4 separate regions of the Homo sapiens genome follow, and regions 1, 3 and 4 are each linked to region 2. The links are contacts of gene promoters, found by promoter capture Hi-C in blood cells and fetal thymus (Javierre and others, 2016). All regions are on one chromosome and are shown on one strand. The core of a region is centred on a gene start or on the middle of the fragment in contact, and the rest is flanking DNA. Distances in the headings are between cores, read along the strand shown.

What was found. Contacts are between HindIII fragments. The CHiCAGO score rates a contact against its expected background, and 5 or more counts as called.
Region 1: a fragment that was not itself captured here is called in contact with the fragment with the promoter of RASL11A in region 2 in 1 of 17 cell types (megakaryocytes); the score reaches 6.7 in megakaryocytes.
Region 3: a fragment that was not itself captured here is called in contact with the fragment with the promoter of RASL11A in region 2 in 1 of 17 cell types (erythroblasts); the score reaches 5.5 in erythroblasts.
Region 4: a fragment that was not itself captured here is called in contact with the fragment with the promoter of RASL11A in region 2 in 7 of 17 cell types (erythroblasts, megakaryocytes, endothelial precursors and 4 more); the score reaches 8.9 in erythroblasts.

What each region holds. Positions count from the first base shown.
Region 1 is chr13:27,035,898-27,040,188 of GRCh38, forward strand. No RefSeq gene overlaps it. Among named protein-coding and RNA genes, the nearest start is that of USP12-AS1, 87 kb to the right of the region's middle. RefSeq lists an enhancer at 1-1,099. The HindIII fragment of the contact is 2,949 bases long and covers 1,228-4,176 here.
Region 2 is chr13:27,269,135-27,273,615 of GRCh38, forward strand. RASL11A (RAS like family 11 member A) reads left to right here and starts at 1,696. Exons shown (of 4, transcript NM_206827.2): 1 at 1,696-1,934; 2 at 2,350-2,406; 3 at 2,505-2,584; 4 at 3,893-4,481. The coding sequence starts at 1,811. The coding sequence ends at 4,360. RefSeq lists an enhancer at 1,158-1,658 and silencers at 1,607-1,826, 1,867-2,096. The HindIII fragment of the contact is 11,897 bases long and covers 1-4,481 here.
Region 3 is chr13:27,079,351-27,083,873 of GRCh38, forward strand. All of the region lies in intron 6 of USP12 (ubiquitin specific peptidase 12), which reads right to left. Among named protein-coding and RNA genes, the nearest start is that of USP12-AS1, 44 kb to the right of the region's middle. The HindIII fragment of the contact is 2,796 bases long and covers 485-3,280 here.
Region 4 is chr13:27,018,191-27,022,556 of GRCh38, forward strand. No RefSeq gene overlaps it. Among named protein-coding and RNA genes, the nearest start is that of USP12-AS1, 110 kb to the right of the region's middle. The HindIII fragment of the contact is 823 bases long and covers 1,640-2,462 here.

The DNA of each region.
Region 1 (4,291 bases), core at 1,452-3,951, 230 kb before region 2:
GCACCTGGGAAGTCTCAGAAGGTGGGACATTCGTTGGCTAAGTAGAAAGCTGAGCAGATCTCAGCTCTCTCTCTGTTGAGTGCCCAAGCACACATAGAACTACACACGTGGTATCTCAGCAGTAAGGCCTGACAGCAAGGCAAGGGGGGACAGGCGGGAGGTGAGTCATGATCCTGCGTGTGCGTTGGTGCTCATTCTGACCCGCGCACCGAGATGGAAGCTGTGACACAGGAGGCTGTGTCAGCGCCATCCCAGCTCTGCAAGTACATCCAAATTCCAGGTTCCCGCCTCACCTCTCTGGTCTACCTAAGAGTTCACAGCGCAGTTGCAGTGCTCTGGGTTCCTGCCTGCTTCATGGTACCAGCCCATGCCCTTCTGTGATCCACACGCGTCCGGGACCTCATGCCCAGCCCCCAAGACATCCAGTGCAGAGGCACAGCCAATGAATCACCCTGCTGTCATACCTGCCTTCCCATTTTCAAAGATCCTTTTCTAAAAATACTATCAATGAATGCACTGTGGCATGGAAACAGAAGACAGCCGACTTAAAAACTGAATCTCCGGGCTTGGAACTTCCCCTAAATCATATTCTGGCAAAACATCTACAAAGCCCAAACACATTCTTGACCTTTGAAGAAAATGTCAGTGTGGAGCAAAGGCCTGTGTTCTGACCCCACCCAGCTACAAGAATTTCCTCCCTCCTGCCCGCACATCTTCAAAGAGTCCCTGAGATTCCAGGCTGGTTGCTACTTCCCCAGGGGAGCATTGCATGCATCTTTTCCATGTCCTGGAGGTCCAGAGGGGCTTTATAAAGTGGCCCCAACCCAGCAGCATCTGGGGCTGTGCTCCTGTTCTGTGCTCTAGGGGAAATGGAAGCAGGAGTCAGATTTGTCTTGGAGGATTCCTGTTCATCAGCAGGAGTTCTGAGTTACATGCCGAAAAGCAGACTACATTTTTTGCATTGCAGAGTGCTTCTGAAAAACACCATTCTAGAAAGGGGGATCATACATCCCAGTTTGCCTAAGACAGTTCTGGTTTACAGCTGTTATTCCTGTATACGTATTAATAGCACCTCTTTTACTCTCAAAAGCATCCCACTTTGGCAATAAAATTCCACTTCCCAGTCCTAGTCTTCCCATGACTGGATGGTGGCTGTTAAAGCCTTGGCCTCTAGAAGCGCCCCGGCAACTGGCACTTAGCTTATCTCTGAATTGTCTGCCGGAGTGAAGCTTAATTAAGATCTTGTTAGTTTGGGGAGAAAGAATCAAGGACATTTGGCAGCACATCCCTCACTTTATGTCACCCCTAAGTGAGATCCCCAGCCAGCTTCAGGGGGGCATTTTCCTGTCACCAGCCTTCTTGGTTCTCAGGAGCAGAGTTATCCTGTAGCAAGAAATGTTCACATCAGAGGTTTCCGACTTGCACAGAGAAGAGTCCGAGGAAGTGGGGAGACCTCCCTTGCTCACCCTCCCCTACTAACTGGCCAAAGCCTTCCTGGCCACCGCAGGACCTCAGAGTGCATCTCTGGCCTTTCAAACACAGTGTTATCTACTGTCCATAAACAGCGACCAAGAAACTCAAAAAGAAGAACCAGAACAGCCCAATGCCTGCACAGAGCAGTGCTCAATTAATACTTGTTGACTGATTGACTAATACATACATGAATGAAAGAACAACAAAATTGACAAATATCTGGCCCTCTGTGTGAGCTGAGAGGAAGCACATCATTCTAACACAGCACCTGAGAGCATTCTCACACCCAGAGCTCAAGGAAAATCAACACGCAAGGAAAAAATTCAGGGAGGGAGGCACCAGCCACCAACTCCCCTGGGGTGGCGGGTGAGCATGTGGAGAGGCCACAGCTGTGCACAGCTGGGTCTCTGTTGCTCAGCTTCTGGGAACCGGCAGGTGCACGTGGCTGTCCTCAAGGTTTTGCTCCACCTCCTGTGCCTCATTCCAGTTCCCTTGAGGGAGAGAACTGAGGACACTTCTGTATCCCTGAGCCTGGAGGAATTATAATAAGATGCCATCTCCGAAGAGAAGGGAGAGGGGCCAAGACCTCACTGGGGAGCAACCTTGCTCCTCTCTCCAACCTTCTATGGCTCACACTTACCAACTTTGCTCTTCTGTGGTCTCTTTTTCCCAAGATCCTGTTACAAATACAACATAGGCTTAAAAGCAAAAGGCATTAGCAGAGATCATTTGGGTCACTTCTTAATGATACGAAGATACCATTTGGTGAGTTTTCTACACGGGGCTCTTGCTCAGTGTTGGCAGTGCACAGTGCTCTTAGGGACATTTTTGAATGTAAGCCAAAAGTGTTTTTGAATATGCTCAATTCACCAAAAGATATAATTTTATGTATTAATAACATAGCTTCAAAATATATAAAGCAAAAAAATGACAAAACTAAAATGATAAATAGACAAACCCATGAAGATTTGGACAACCCAATTTATCCCTTTGGAAAAGAGTGGCATTATGTTTAAAATTATGGATATGGAAATCCAGAACTTCCAATTCTAGGTGCAGACTATAGAGAAACTTGAGCACGTGTGCACAGTGACTCACCCTCAGAAATATTCATCACAGCCTTGTCCACTGCTAACAACCCATTCCACAGCCAATTTTCCATTTACAGGGAAGTGAATAAGTAGTTGTGGCAGATTCATACAAGAAAATGCTATACCGCAATGAAAACTCAGTGAACTTAAGCCACACATATAGATGCATCTCAAAAAGCAATGTTGAAGGAAAGAAGCAAGATAAAAGCACCCAGGCCGGGCACGGTGGCTCACGCCTGTAATCCCAACACTTTGGGAGGCCAAGGTGGGTGGATTATTTGAGGTCAGGAGTTCGAGATCAGCCTGGCCAACATGGTGAAACCCCACCTCTACTAAAAATACAAAAATTAGCCAGGCATGGTGGCGGGCGTCTATAATCCCAGCTTCTCAGGAGTCTGAGGCAGGAGAATTGCTTGAACCCAGGAGGTGGACGTTATAATGAGCCAAGATTGCGCCACTGCACTCCAGCCTGGGAGACAGAGTGAGACTCCATCTCAAAAAAAAAAAAAAAAAAAAAAAAAAAAAAAGAATCCATAGAGTATGATTCCGTTTCTATAGAGCTGAAAAACAGCCAAAGCTAAAGTGCATTGTTTAAGAATACATACATAAGCGATCAGACTATAAAGGAAAGAAAAGAGATGACCATCCTAAAAGCTAGGAGGATGATGACTCTGCAAGGAGGAAGGGTTTGGCCGGGGAGACACACCCAGGGGCTTCCAGGGTGCAAGTTCTAGTCTAGTTCCTGACCTAAGGAGTATTACCCAGGTGTCCACATCATAATTCTTCATTCAACTGGACACACACTTTTACGCAAGTTTATGTATGTGAGGCGTATTTACCAATAAAAACAATGTTATCAAAAATGTGGGAAAGGCTGGGGCCAACGGGGTCGAGTGCCCCTGGCTGGGACTGTCCTGCCCAGAGAAGCTCTGCCTCTCTTCTCTCCCTCCACCTGCTGAGAGGCAAGGGAGCCTCCGGTCTCCCCATCTATGGGGGTCTCCCCTACCCCCAGGTGGTCTAGGTAGCAGCTGGTCCAGACCTGCCATGTCTCAGGTCCTGGGGTGAAGGCTCCCAGCCCCTGGCTCTTCCTGGTGGGCAGCTTCTTCCCAGATAGGCTTTTCCTCCCACGGAAAGATGTATGCGTGGGCTTGGGGGAACAGCCACGTGACTTGGTCCTGGGCCCCCAGCCTGCCCAATAAAGAGGCATTCTCAACACGGTCCACATTAGCTTATCAGGATCCAAAGCAGACATTTGCCTTGACCTCCATGTCTTGAGGACATCAAGGGGAGAGAGGGCTGTAACAGGGCAAGATTCAGACACTCAGGCTCTTCAACCCTGTGGCATTGTCTGTTCCCAAAGCCCAGTCCCAAAGGTGGAGGCAAACAGGGCAAAATATTAGAGCCAGGCCTTTGGGGTAAAATCCCCCGACCATGCTCCTTCCATTCCTCAGCCAGAACTATTTGGTCCCTAAAAGTGAGCTGGAGCTGAGGCATTTCCCGTCCACCCGGGGGTCCCAGCCATGTTCCTAGGCTTCCAGGAAACACTTTTTCTCCAGATAGATTGCTGACACCTGTACATAAAATAGACTCCCATAAACAGGCATTTTCCAAAAGCTTTTAAACCGCAGAGCGTTTACTTAAAGCCTGAGAAAATAAGCCTTAGGCTCATTTTCCTCCAACAAGGAGCTCAGCTGCTGCATTCTCCAACAGTGACTGCCAAAATTGGG
Region 2 (4,481 bases), core at 446-2,945:
TGAATATGGGCTGGCCCCATGACTTGCTTTGGCCAACAGAATGCAGCAGAAGGGATGGGTTCCTTCTCAAGGCCTAGGTCTCAAGAGGCCTTATCCATTTCCACCCACTCTCTTGGAACTCTGCTCAGCTACCATGAAGGCAGGCCCTGGCCAACGTGCTGAATGAGAAGAGACATGTAACTCAGTCACTACCCTCCCTCATCACAGCCAACAGCTGCCAGACATGAGTAAGGCTATCCAAGGGCAGCCAGCCCCCACTTCCAGAACCTGGAAGCTCCCTGCAGATGCATCAAAGGGCTCAACAACTGTAAGTGATTGTTGTTCTAAGCCATCTAGTTTGGTGTGGCTTGTCATGCAGCAAAAACTGGTACAACCAGGGTAGAGAAAGGTATGAATTAGGGTGGGGCTGTCTAATAGGCGATTAGGCAAGTGAGGCTGGAACACAGGAGGTCAGAGGCATGAAGGTCTTCTAACTGTTCAAGGTTAAAGTCCTGAGGCTTCTGCTGTGCTATTTCTGGTGGGCTCCAGAAATCCAAGAACCAGTCTATAGCTCTGTGTCCTGTTCCTCACACTGCCCCCCACCCCACCCTAGACCCCACCATGCACCTAGAAGTAAATATTTGGATACTGAAGCAAATGCATGACTCAAGCACATAGGATAGTATTAATGATGGACACTTAGTGCAGGGCCAGGGCCCCCAGCCAGTGGAGTGCTCATGAGTGTTCAGGAATGAGCCAGTGCAACCCCTGCCTGCAGAGGAGGGGCTGGGCATGGATACTGAGATGCTAACCATCACTGCCCCTAAGGGGACTTCATCTATCCCTAGCAAGGTCACAGTGACTGCAGTTGCCTCCACTGATACTAATTCAGAGCTCTTGCCCCCCGCCCCCCGCCCTTTTCCCATATTAATGTTACCCCTTAGCATCTTTTCTTTTCTTTCTTTTTTTTTTTTTTTTGAGACGGAGTTTCGCTCTTGTGGTCCAGGCTGGAGTGCAGTGGTGCCATCTCGGCTCACTGCAACCTCCGCCTCCCTAGTTCAAGCGATTCTGCTGCCTCAGCCTCCCGAGTAGTTGGGATTACAGGCGCCCACCACCACGCCCCGCTAATTTTTGTATTTTTAGTAGAGACAGCGTTTCGCCATGTTGGCCAGGCTGGTCTTGAACTCCTGACCGCAGATGATCTTGCCCACCTGGGCCTCCCAAAGTGCTGGGATTACAGGCGTAAGCCACCGCGCCCAGCCCCTTAGCACCTTTTAAAAATAAAAAGGGCAGCGTTTTACAGCAATCTGTCCCATTGTTGCAGAAACATCCAACTGATTGCACTTTTTCTTCTTCTCTCGTCAACTCGTAACTCCTATCTCAAGTTCACCCACAGGTCTAGTGACTCCGGCTGGCTGCTGCGGGGCGAGGAGACTCGCAGAATGCCTGACTAGAGGCCACTCGCGCGCTCTGGACGGTGGCCGTATCTCCAGGGTCTGAGCCCCGGAGCCGCAGTCCTGCCGCAGAGCGCCTGGAGCCGCGAGCAGCTAGCAGCCCGGCGAAGCGCACAGCCTCGGCGATAGTCAGCTCCGCGGCCTCTGCTCCCGCCCCTCCCGGCCGCTCCGGGAAGGGGCGGAGACGAGGAGGAGCTGGGACGGCCGCCGCGCTCCCGGGCGCACCAAGCCCTTTAAAAGCCGCGGGCCTTGACAGTTCTGCAGGCAGCCGCCGCGGTCCCGGACCTCTAGTCCCGCACTCCCAGCTGGCGAGCCGGCTCCGGGTGCGGCGAGGCCCAGCCCTCTCGGATTGCGCGCCGGACCCCGGGACGCGCTCCATGCGGCCGCTCAGCATGTCCGGGCACTTTCTGCTCGCACCCATCCCCGAGTCCTCCTCGGACTACCTACTGCCCAAGGACATCAAACTGGCGGTGCTGGGCGCCGGCCGCGTGGGCAAGAGCGGTGAGTGCGGCGGGGACCCCCGGGCGGCTTCGCTCCCCGGCTCCGGCCGCGACCACTGGGGGCGCTGCGGAGAGAGGGCGCCTCGGCCGAAGCAGAGGGCGCGGGTGCAGGTAGAATCGGGCTGCTTTCGCGCTGGGTGGGTCCCGGTCCGTCCCGGCCTGCTTCCCTGGCGTTTCCTGGTGCATCTACTCCTGGGATCTCGGCGGGATTGGCGCCTGTTCGGGGATGGGGTGCGGGAGAGGTGTCCCGCCAGTCGTACTCGCGGCCAAGCCCGCGGCACCACGGCTTTGCGGAGCCTCTGGAAGCGAGCAGTGCCCACGGTTCTGCACCCTTCACTCCCCCCAGTTTGTCCGAGGTGCCTGGGTTTGACAGGCTTGTTCTACTCCTTCGGTTGATTTTCCTATTTCCTTTTCAGCAATGATCGTGCGCTTCCTGACCAAGAGATTCATTGGAGACTATGAACCGAATACAGGTGAGAATACTTTCACGCTCCCTGCTTTTATGCTTGCGTGTTTCTTTTTACGGATGGGAGTTTGAGAATTAAAAAGCAAACTCTACTTCATTCTCCAGGCAAGCTGTATTCACGGCTGGTCTATGTCGAGGGGGACCAGCTCTCCCTGCAGATCCAGGATACTCCCGGGGGCGTCCAGGTAAGAACCGCCAGGGGCAAACAGCTCACCCCCACCCGTGAGACCACCCCAGTGGGCACAGCACGTAGGGCGCCCATGCTGGGCGCAGGGGTCTGAGCAAGGCATCTAAACCGACCTGTGCGTTTAGAGGGAGGAATGGGCTGTCCACAGGTGGGGCCAGTGGTTGGGGTGTTAGAAACTCTCTAAGGGGGAGGCATGGTTAGAAGCAGCCTCCTCTTGTTAAGCACCTGACTTAACTTCACTTTGCAACCCTGGTGGGCCATCACTACTTAAGCAGGTCTCACCATTTCTTCCGGAGGTAGCCATGGAACCATTAACAAAGAAAAAAACGTTTAAAACAAAACAAAACAAAACAAAAAAAGAGGTAGGATTCTGATGGGAGAGACTCTTCTCCCCTGGCAAGCTCTGCTTTTTTTGAGACGGAGTTTCACTCTTGCCCAGGCTGGAGTGCAGTGGCTGGATCTCAGCTCACTGCAACTTCCGCCTCCTAGGTTCCAGCGATTCTCCTCGATTCTCCTGCTTCAGTCTCCCGAGTAGCTGGGACTACAGGCACCCGCCGGAACTCCCAGCTATTTATCTATTTATTTATTTATTAGTAGAGATGGGGTTTCACTATGTTGGCCAGGCTGGTCTCGAACTCCTGACCTCAAGTGATCCGCCCACCTCGGCCTCCCAAAGTGGTGGGATTATAGGCATGAGCCACAGCGCCCGGCCCAAGCACTGCTGAACTGCTGCTGTTAATGGCTGTTCCCTCAAGTCAGTAATTGCAATCAGATAACCCCTTGGCAGAGGGTCTAGAATGTAACTTGTTTATTAACCAGTTACTAATTGCTACTCCGTTCTCCAGAGGAAAGGTCTTGTGGAAGAACCCTAAGAAAGGAATTTCTTTCTGTAACATTCTTAAGAAGTGCATGTTAAAAATGTTTTTATGAGTTTGGGAATAGATATTTATCTTGGCTTATTTTCAAAGTTTTGTTTATTATGAGTTAGTGTTTCCTAAAACTTGAGCCATTCTGGTTTGAGGTCATTCTTCAGTCAGCCATGGTTCACCAGAGACTGCCTGACAAGCAAGGGGTTTAAAAATAATGCAGGGATAACAGCTAATAAAGTAACTCAGGCAGGGAGTTTGCCTGGGAATCTGTTCTTTCCATATCAAAAGCCTGCTTCTGCAGAAGCTGGGTGGAAACTGAAAACTGTATTTAGAGATTTCTTTTTCAAGTGTTTCTTCAAGGGTTGCCTTGATGTTGTTTTGAGTTTATCTCCCACTGAGGGTTTCCTTGACTGGATCTCATTTTGATGTTTTCTCAGATCCAAGACAGCCTCCCCCAGGTCGTCGATTCCCTGTCCAAATGCGTGCAGTGGGCCGAGGGTTTTCTGCTGGTCTATTCCATCACAGACTATGACAGCTACTTGTCCATCCGACCCCTTTATCAGCACATCCGGAAGGTCCACCCTGACTCTAAAGCCCCTGTCATCATCGTGGGCAACAAGGGGGACCTTTTGCATGCCCGGCAGGTGCAGACACAGGACGGTATTCAGCTAGCCAATGAGCTGGGCAGCCTGTTCCTTGAAATTTCCACTAGCGAAAACTACGAAGATGTCTGTGATGTGTTTCAGCATCTCTGCAAAGAAGTGAGCAAGATGCACGGCCTCAGTGGGGAAAGAAGAAGAGCCTCCATCATCCCTCGGCCCCGCTCTCCCAACATGCAGGACCTGAAGAGACGCTTCAAGCAGGCTCTGTCTCCCAAAGTCAAAGCCCCCTCTGCACTGGGGTGAACTATCTCAGACAGATGCCTCTCCTTTTTAATACGCATTTGTGCAGCTAAAAGACTGGGCTTCTCGCTTTTTAATCACACATTCAGAGTTTATTTTTATAAAAAAATTGATTTTCAAGTAC
Region 3 (4,523 bases), core at 633-3,132, 190 kb before region 2:
ACAAGGTAGCTGGGGTTTTATATGCTCTTTAGCACCTGTCAGTGACTGGTCAAAGACTTGGAATTTGAACCAAACTCCAGAAACTCCCTTCTCCAGTAGCCCAAGGGGGAGTCCTTCCCAGAGCCATCAGGTGCTAAGTATTCCAAAGGACTAGGGGAGGAGCTGGAGGAAGGACTGACATTGCCTGCAACCACCCTCAACCGGAATACCAACTACCCAGCCGCAGGCAAGCAACACCACTATGGGATGGAATGCAGACCCTGGAATCCAGTGGAATCTGAACTGTTTTTCTCAATAGTCAGAAACGTTTTTTAAAGTAAATTTCCTATTTTTATAAATTGTGTGAGCCAGAGTTCTTTAGATGGAATCTGATCCAGAGGACACTATTTGCAAGCTCTGCCACAGATGAATGCAATACCCCAGCCACAGGCACTTAAGAACTTACCAACATCCTGTCAGCAGAGAAGTCCTGACCACACAGAAAAGCTTAATAATTGTACAGACATTCAGTTCCAAGGACTGAATTCCATGCCCTTTTAAAATGTACCATCAACAAGGATTAATTGTGACACATTACAATGAGGGGGTCAGGGCAAATAGAATGCTTTATGTGAGAAAGACACTAAGGTGACTCAGTGAGATATAAGCAATGAGAGGACATTTAGGCAGCAGAACCTGAACTCCAGCATGTGTTAAAATGGGGGATGGGTCACAGGCACAAATGAGGCTCATGACATACCCCAACATGTATATAAAACATAGTACTGAGTGATGGACATCTGGAGATCCAGGTAGGCATGCAGGCAGGGAGGCAGGAGGCATCAACTTCTCAACAGATGGAAGGACCCACCCAACTCAGATTCCAGAAGACTTGCATGGGGGTGTGTGTGCCAACAGGTGGTTGCAGATGCTGACTACAGCAAAGCAAATCCCTATTGCTGATATGATTTTGACATGATACTACACAAGTTACCATTACTGGAACTGGCTACAGGGGAATAAGATATGGATCTAGTTAGGAAAATGAAGCAAAAGGTAGGGCCTTCATCTCACAAACAGGAAGCCATTCAATCATTAAATCTAGGGCAGATACTCAGAGATGGACTGTGGCCATGACAATGTGATGCTGAGTCACCTGGCCATGCATGGATCTTCTTCAATACCTGGTAAGAACAGGACTGGTCCCAGAAGTGGGGTCAGGCACACACGGAATAAAGGGAGAGTAAAGAGACTTGAGAGAGGAAAGATGAGAAGGCAAGGAGCTTAGCTCCCAGCGTACTGTCACTAATCATTGGATCCCACAGAGTAGTGACAGAAATACAGGCATATCTTGGACACGCAGCAAGTTCAGTTCCAGGCCACCGCAATAAAGTGAGGACCGCAATAAAGTGAAGACCGCAATAAAGCAAGTCATACACATTTTTGGTTTCCCAGTGCATATAAAGGTTATGCTTATACTATACTGTAGTGTATTATGTAACAGCATTATGTCTGAAAAAAGTCCATATCTTAATTTAAAAATAGTTTATTGCTTAAAAAATGATCATCTGAGCCTTCAGTGAATCATAATCTTTCTGCTGGTGGAGGGTCTTGCCTCAAGGATGATGACTGCTGACTGATCAGGATGGTGGTTGCTGAAGGTCGGGGTGGCTGAGGCAATTTTTTTTTTTTTTTTTTTTTTGAGACGGAGTCTTGCTCTGTCGCCCAGGCTGGAGTGCAGTGGCGCGATCTTGGCTCACTGCAAGATCCAGGCTGAGGCAATTTCTCAAAATAAGACAAGAATGTCTGCCACATCAACTGGCTTTTCCTTTCACAGATTTCTCTGTAGCATGTGATGCTGTTTGACAGCATTTTATCCACAGAACTTCTTTCAAAATTGAGTCAATCCTCTCAAACCCTGACGCTGCTATCAACTAAGGTTATGTAATATTCTAAATCCTTTGTTGCCATTTCAACAATGTTCACAGCATGTTAACCAGGAGTAGATTCCATCTCAACAAACCACATTCTTTGATCTTCCATAAGAAGCAACTTCTCATTCATTCAAGTTTGATCATGAGATTGCAGCAATTCAGTCAGATCGTCAGGATCCTCTTCTAATTCTTGTTCTCTTGCTGTTTCCACCACATCTACAGTGACTTCCTCCACTGAAGTTCGAATCCCTCAAAGTCATCAATGAGGGTTGGAATGAACTTCTTCCAAACTGTTTTTAATGTTAATATTTTAACCTCCTCCCATGAATCACAAATATTCTAATGGCACCCAGAATGGTGAATCCTTTCCAGAGGGGTTTCAATTTACTTTGCTCAGATCCATCAGAGGAATCTCAATCTATGGCAGCTGTAGACTTAAAAAATATTAAATAATAACAATTGAAAGTCAAAATAACTCATTGATTCATGGGCTGCAGAATGGATCTTATGTTAGCAGGCATGAAAACAACATTAATCTCTTTGTGCGTCTCCATCAGAGCTCTTGGGTGATCACATGTATTGTCAATAAGCAGTAATATTTTGAAAGAAATCTTTGTTTCTGAGTGATAGGTCTCAACAGTGAGCTTAAAATATTCAGTAAATTATGCTATAAACAGGTGTGCTGTCATCCAGGCTTTGTTTCTTTTCTACAGCACAGGCAGGGTAGATTCAGCGTAATTCTTAAGAACTCAAGGATTTTAGGGATGGTAAATGAATACTGGCTTCAACTTAAAAGTCACCAGCTGCATTAACCGCTAACCAGAGAATCAGCCTGTCCTTTGAAGCTGGGCGCTCACTTCTCTCTAGCTATGACAGTCCTAAACACCCTCTTTTTCCAATAGAAGACTGTTTCCTCTATATTGAAAATCTGTTGTTTAGTGTAGCCACCATCAGCAACTATTTTAGCTAGACAATCTAGATAACTTACTGCTGCTTCACCTTGTACTTTTATCTCATGGAGACAGCTTCTTTCCTTAAAACCTCATGAACCCACCCCTGCTAGCTTCAAAATTTTCTTCTGCAGCTTCCTTACCTCTCTCAGCCTTCATAGAACTGAAGACAGGCCCTGGTTTTAGATTAGGCTTTGGCTTAAGGGAATGTTGTGGCTAGTTTGATCTTCTAACCAGGCCACTCAAACTTCTCCATTTGGCAATAAGGCTGTTTTGCTTTCTTATCATTTGTGGGTTCACTAGAGTAGCTCTTTTAATTCTCTTCAAATACTTTTTCTTTGCACTCCTAACTTGGCTGTTTGGTGCAAGAGGCCTAGCTTTCAGCCTATCTTGGCTTTCAACGTGCCCTATTCATTAAGCTTAATCATTTCTAGCTTTTCACTTAAAGTGAGAGACATGTAAATATTTCTTTTCACTTGAACCCTTAGAAGCCATTGTAAGGTTATTAATTGGCCTAATTTCAATATTGTTGTGTCTTAGGGAATAAAGAGGCCTGAGAGAGAGGTAGGAGGGGGAAAACGTCAGGTGGGTGGAGCAGTCAGAACGCACAACATTTAAGTTCATCATCTTTTTCTTTTTGAGACAGAGTTTCACTCTTGTTGCCCAGGCTGGAGTGCAATGGCGTGATCTCGGCTCACCGCAACCTCCGCCTCCCAGGTTCAAGTGATGCTCCTGCCTCAGCCTCCCGAGTTGCTGGGATTATAGGCATGCGCCACCACGTCCAGCTAATTTTGTATTTTTAGTAGAGATGGGGTTTCACCATGTTGGTCAGGCTGGTCTCAAACTCCTGACCTCAGGTGATCTGCCCACCTTGGCCTCCCAAAGTGCTGGGATTACAGGTGTGAGTCACTGCACCTGGCTAAGTTCATCATCTTAAATGGGTGCAGTTCATGGTGCTCCCAAGACAGTTACCATAGCAACATCAACGATAACTGATCATGTATCACCGTAACAATATAATAATGAAAAAGTTTGAAATAGTGCAAGAATTACCAAAAATGTGACAGAGACAGGAAATGTGCACACATGCTGTTGGAAAAATGGCACTGATAGACTTGCTCAACAGAGGGTTGCCACAAACCTTCAATCTGTAAAAACCACAGGGTCTGCAAGGTGCTGTGAAGTGAAATGCAATGTTCTGTTCTCTAAGACCTGAGCCTCAGCCTCCCCCTTGCCCCCATGCCAGCAGCCAGGGACAGGAAAACAACAACTGAAACAGCCATCAATCCTTTCTCATTACAGTTCCCCAGGGCGATCACTCTCCTCTCACCTATATGCTTTAACCTCCCATGGGATAAACGTATATGACCATTAGAGTGACATTTCCCACACTGCTATCTTTCCTGAACTGCACTATTTACAGAGTTCAATAGGCATGCTATATAAATGGAGTCTATGTGCAAGTAAATTCTGGAAAAAGCTGGATAAAGTTTCCTTTATTTTGTGAGTCTTCAGGAGCATGAATATTTAGATAAAATATTATAAAGCAAATTCATTTGATCATAAAATACTAATTTTGTGGCACATCATTAACATTCCCAAAAATTATTCTTCAGTGTTCTCGGGATGAACCTTTTTGGGAGAATATATATATATATAT
Region 4 (4,366 bases), core at 801-3,300, 250 kb before region 2:
GTGGTGGCAGGCGCCTGTAGTCCCAGCTACTCGGGAGGCTGAGACAGGAGAATGGCGTGAACCCAAGAGGCAGCACTTGCAGTGAGCCGAGATCGTGCCACTGCACTCTAGCCTGAGCGACAGAGCGAAACTCTGTCTTAAAAAAAAAAAAGATTTAAAAATAAATATTTAAAATAAGATGTGGGTGTGAGGGTTGGTCATGATGATTAACTGTGAAGGTCAAGTCTCTGCCCACCAGGCTGTTTCCATCAACCACGCTCAGATGAGTGGCCTTGGGCAAGTTATTTAACCTCTCTGAGACCTGTTTCATAATCTGTAAAAATCACAAGAAAACCAACATTGGGTTGTTGGGGAGATTAAACGAAGTAAAGCTCTTCTCCCAGTGCCTGTTTCAAAGTGAACTCCGGGTGAATGGCAGCTACAGGGTAGTACTATTGCCCTTGTCATGCTGTGACCTCTGCTGCAGTGGTGAGGTTTGGGGAGCGTGTGGCATTCACCGGGTGAGTTGGGAACACCATTGCATGAGCAGAAGTTGGCAAACTACTAGGTGAAACTTAGCTGTGGCTTGTTTTGTAAATAAAGTTTTCCTGGAACACAGCCAGGCCCATTGGTTTATGTACGGTCGGTCGATGGCTGCTTTTGCACCAAACAGCAGTGGAGTGGTTGTGACAGAGGCCGTATGGCCCGCAAAGCCTAAAATATTTACTATCTGTCCCTTTACTGAAAATATCTGCCAACCCTGCAAATACAGTGGCCAGACCAGGCTTCACCTGAAACACGAAGGAGACCAGGGTGGTCAGCACTCCGCAGACCATTCCAAAGAAGCACCGGTTTCCCTAGGTCCTGGAAAATTCCCCTCCCCCACGATCTCCTCCAGGATTCCTCTGGCTGCCTGCGGTGCAGCAGGGCCTTTCTTTCTTTTTCTTTTCTTTTCTCCTTCTTTCTTCTTCCTTCCTTCCTTCCTTCCTTCTTTCTTTCTTTCTTTCTTTTTCTTTCTTTCTTTCATTCTTCCTTTCTTTCTTTCTTTTTTGACAGAGTTCTGCTCTTGTTGCCCAGGCTGGAGAGCAATGGTGCAATCTTGGCTCACCACAACCCCTGCCTCCTGGATTAAAGCGATTCTCCTGCCTCAGCCTCCTGAGTAGCTGGGATTACAGGCATGCACCACCACGCCTGGCTAATTTTTTGTATTTTTTTTAGTAGAGATGGGGTTTCTCCATGTTGGTCAGGCTGGTCTCGACCCCCTGACCCCAGGTGATCTGCCCACCTTGGCCTCCCAAAGTGCTGGGATTACAGGCGTGAGCCACCATGTCCGGCCAGCAGGGCCTTCCTTTCTAACAGACTCTGGCTCAAGACTCTCTTCCTCACCAAGGTTTTCCAAGCACCCCTCAAATCCCACTACCTTCCACCTGTCCCATTCCCCAAATTCTGGAGGCACCACTTCCACCGGCACACCCAGTATCTCAAAAATACCTACAAACCTGAAAGCACAGAAGAAAACCTTCCCAGGTAAGCAGTCATGTTGCACCTGTATACACCTGTGCACAGCTGAAGGCTGAGGGAAGCGTGAGAATGTGGGTCAATCTGCCAAGCAGGAAACAACCAGAAAGCTACTATTGACAGAGTGTGGCTGTCCGGGCCAAGCTTTTCTAACACAAAAGCCATCAAGCATAGCAGCAGTAAGGAAAAAAAGGCAGAGAGAAAAGAGGAAAGTTGGCCAGCCACGGTGGTTCATGCTTGTAATTCCAGCAGTTTGGGAGGCCAAGGCGGGCAGATCACCTGAGGTCAGGAGTTCGAGACCAGCCTGGCCAACATGGTGAAACCCCGTCCGTCTCTACTAAAAATACAAAAAAATTAGCAGGGCATGGTGGCAGGTGCCTGTAATCCCAGCTACTTGGGAGGCTGAGGCAGGAGAATCGCTCGTACCCGGGAGGCGGAGGTTGCAGTGAGCTGAGACTATGCCATAGCAAAACTCCATAAAAAAAAGAAAGAAAGAAAAGAGGAAAGCAATAATTAAGCATGTCACGGAGAGAGGTGCCTGGCAGGTGTGGCCAGCAAGGTCAGACGCAATGGGAGCAGCAGTCGGGGGCAGAGAGCAGGGCTGTGACAGTGCTGAGCGCGCTGAGTGAGGCCAGAGTGGAGGGAACTGATGCAAGGGAAAGTGAGGTGGCGGAGAGGAAGGAGGGCAGCCACGGCTCAGTGCAGGGCAAGCAGCCCTCCCGAGGCCTGAAGGGATTCATGGAGAAGATGTGAGGGCACGAGGCAAAGTTGCTTTTTGTATTCTAGAATAATTCAAAGGAAATCTGAAATCTGAAATCAGTTTTAGAAAGGTGTTCATAAAAATGTTTAATGTCATCTAAAACAGGGGTCCCAGCCCCAGGGCCACAGACTGGGTGGAGCATGGCCTGTTAGGAACCGGGCTACCCAGAAAGACGTGAGGGGCCTGTGAGCTAGAGAGCTAGGGAAGCTTCTTCTGTATTTACAGCGGCTCCCCATCGCTTGCATCACTGCCTGAACTCCGCCTCCTGTCAGATCAGCCACATCATTAGATTCTCACAGGAGCGTGAACCCTATTGTGGACTACACATGTGAGGGATCTAGGTTGCAAGGGATCTAGGTGTGCGCTCCTTATGAGAATCTAATGCCCGATGATCTGAGGTGGAACAGTTTCATCCCAAAACCGTCTCCCACCCCTGTTCCCCAGACCCTGGAAAAAATGTCTTTCATGAAACCGGTCCCTGCTTCCAAAAAGGTTGGGGACTGCTGATCTAAAGTGAATCCAGCCGGGTGCAGTGGCTCAGGCTTATAATCCCAGCTACTAGGGAGGCTGAGGCAGGAGAATCGCTTGAACCCAGGGGGTGGAGGTTTCAGTGAGCAAATATCACGCCACTGCACTCCAGCCTGGGTGACAGAGTGAGACTCCGTCTAAAACAAAAAACAAAAACAAAAACAAAAAACAAAATTAAACTCAATCCAGGACAGGCATTTCCTCTCCTGGGAATGATTTTTCCTTTCCTGGATCTGCCTGATGACGCTTGCGTTAAGCTCCCTCTGGAAACTTCCCTGACTCTTCTAGCGAGTGGAGTTTAACTCCATTCTAGCATGGACCACACTAGTTACAATGATGCGTTTTTGTGTTTTTCTCCTTAACTAGATCAATGCTCCCTAGCTGGAAACCAAGGGGCTGCATCCTACTCCTCATGGCCTCGCTAGGTAAGACTGTGTTGGCTGCGTGACCTGTGATGAAGCTGAGGCTCAGAGAGGTGCTTAGGTTCCCAAGAGCACCCTGCTGGGAACTAAAGGGGCCTGGACGCAAACCCAGGATGATCCCAGGACTTGAGCTCATTCCACTCCTTTGTGCTGCTACCAAAATATGTTTAAAGAAAGTGCTTAGTATATTAAATGCTGGTGAATAAATAAATGAAGGGATGGGTGGGTGAGTGGATAAAGCCATGTCTTTGTAAAGCCCTTCTTTGTTCATTGTCATCGGGCTGTATGGTTTAGTGGAAGGGACCCCACCCATTCCACCATCAATTATCTAACTAAATTTATTAATATGGCCTCTGGGCCTCAGTGCCTTCATCTTTGAGAGGAGCAATAACACCGACCTCACAGGTCAGGGGTGAAGGTCAAGTGTGATAATTTAATTGAAAGCATTCTGTAAATTGTAAGGCCAGGTGAGGTGGCTCACTCCCGTAATCCCAACACTTTGCGGGGCCGAGGTGAGCGGATCACTTGAAGTCAGGAGTTTGAGACCAGCCTGGCCAACATGGTGAAACCCCATCTCTACTAATAATACAAAAATTAGCCAGGCATGGTGGCGGGCACCTGTAATCCCAGCTACTCGGGAGGCTGAGGCAGGAGAATCGCTTGAACCTGGGAGGCAGAGGTTGCAGTGAGCCGAGATCGCAGCACTGCGCTCCAGCCTGGGTGACAGAGTGAGACTCTGTCTCAAAAAAATAAAATAAAATAATAAAATAAAATAAAATAAATAAGAACATGATCTATAAATCGTAAACTATAAAGTGCAAAATAAATACACAGTCATATTAAGGCCAATGATTATTGTGAATTCTTTTCATGACATCTGAGCCATTCATCCATTTACTCATTCTTAAACGTCTATTAGGCTTTTGGCATTAGGGACACAAGAGTGTAGTTTCTGCCCTCAAGGAGCTCGCACTCTGATGAGAGAGACAGGAAAGCTAACAGGCAATTATAACACAGCTGGCATGTGCTAACAGGAATCAGATAAGAATGAGTTCTTGCATTTTAGATGTGTGGAAACCTAAGTTCTCCCTTTTGCCAACCATAGTTCCCGGCTTTGTACTCAGTAGGTGCTCTACCCAATGGCTCTGGTCACCTCAGG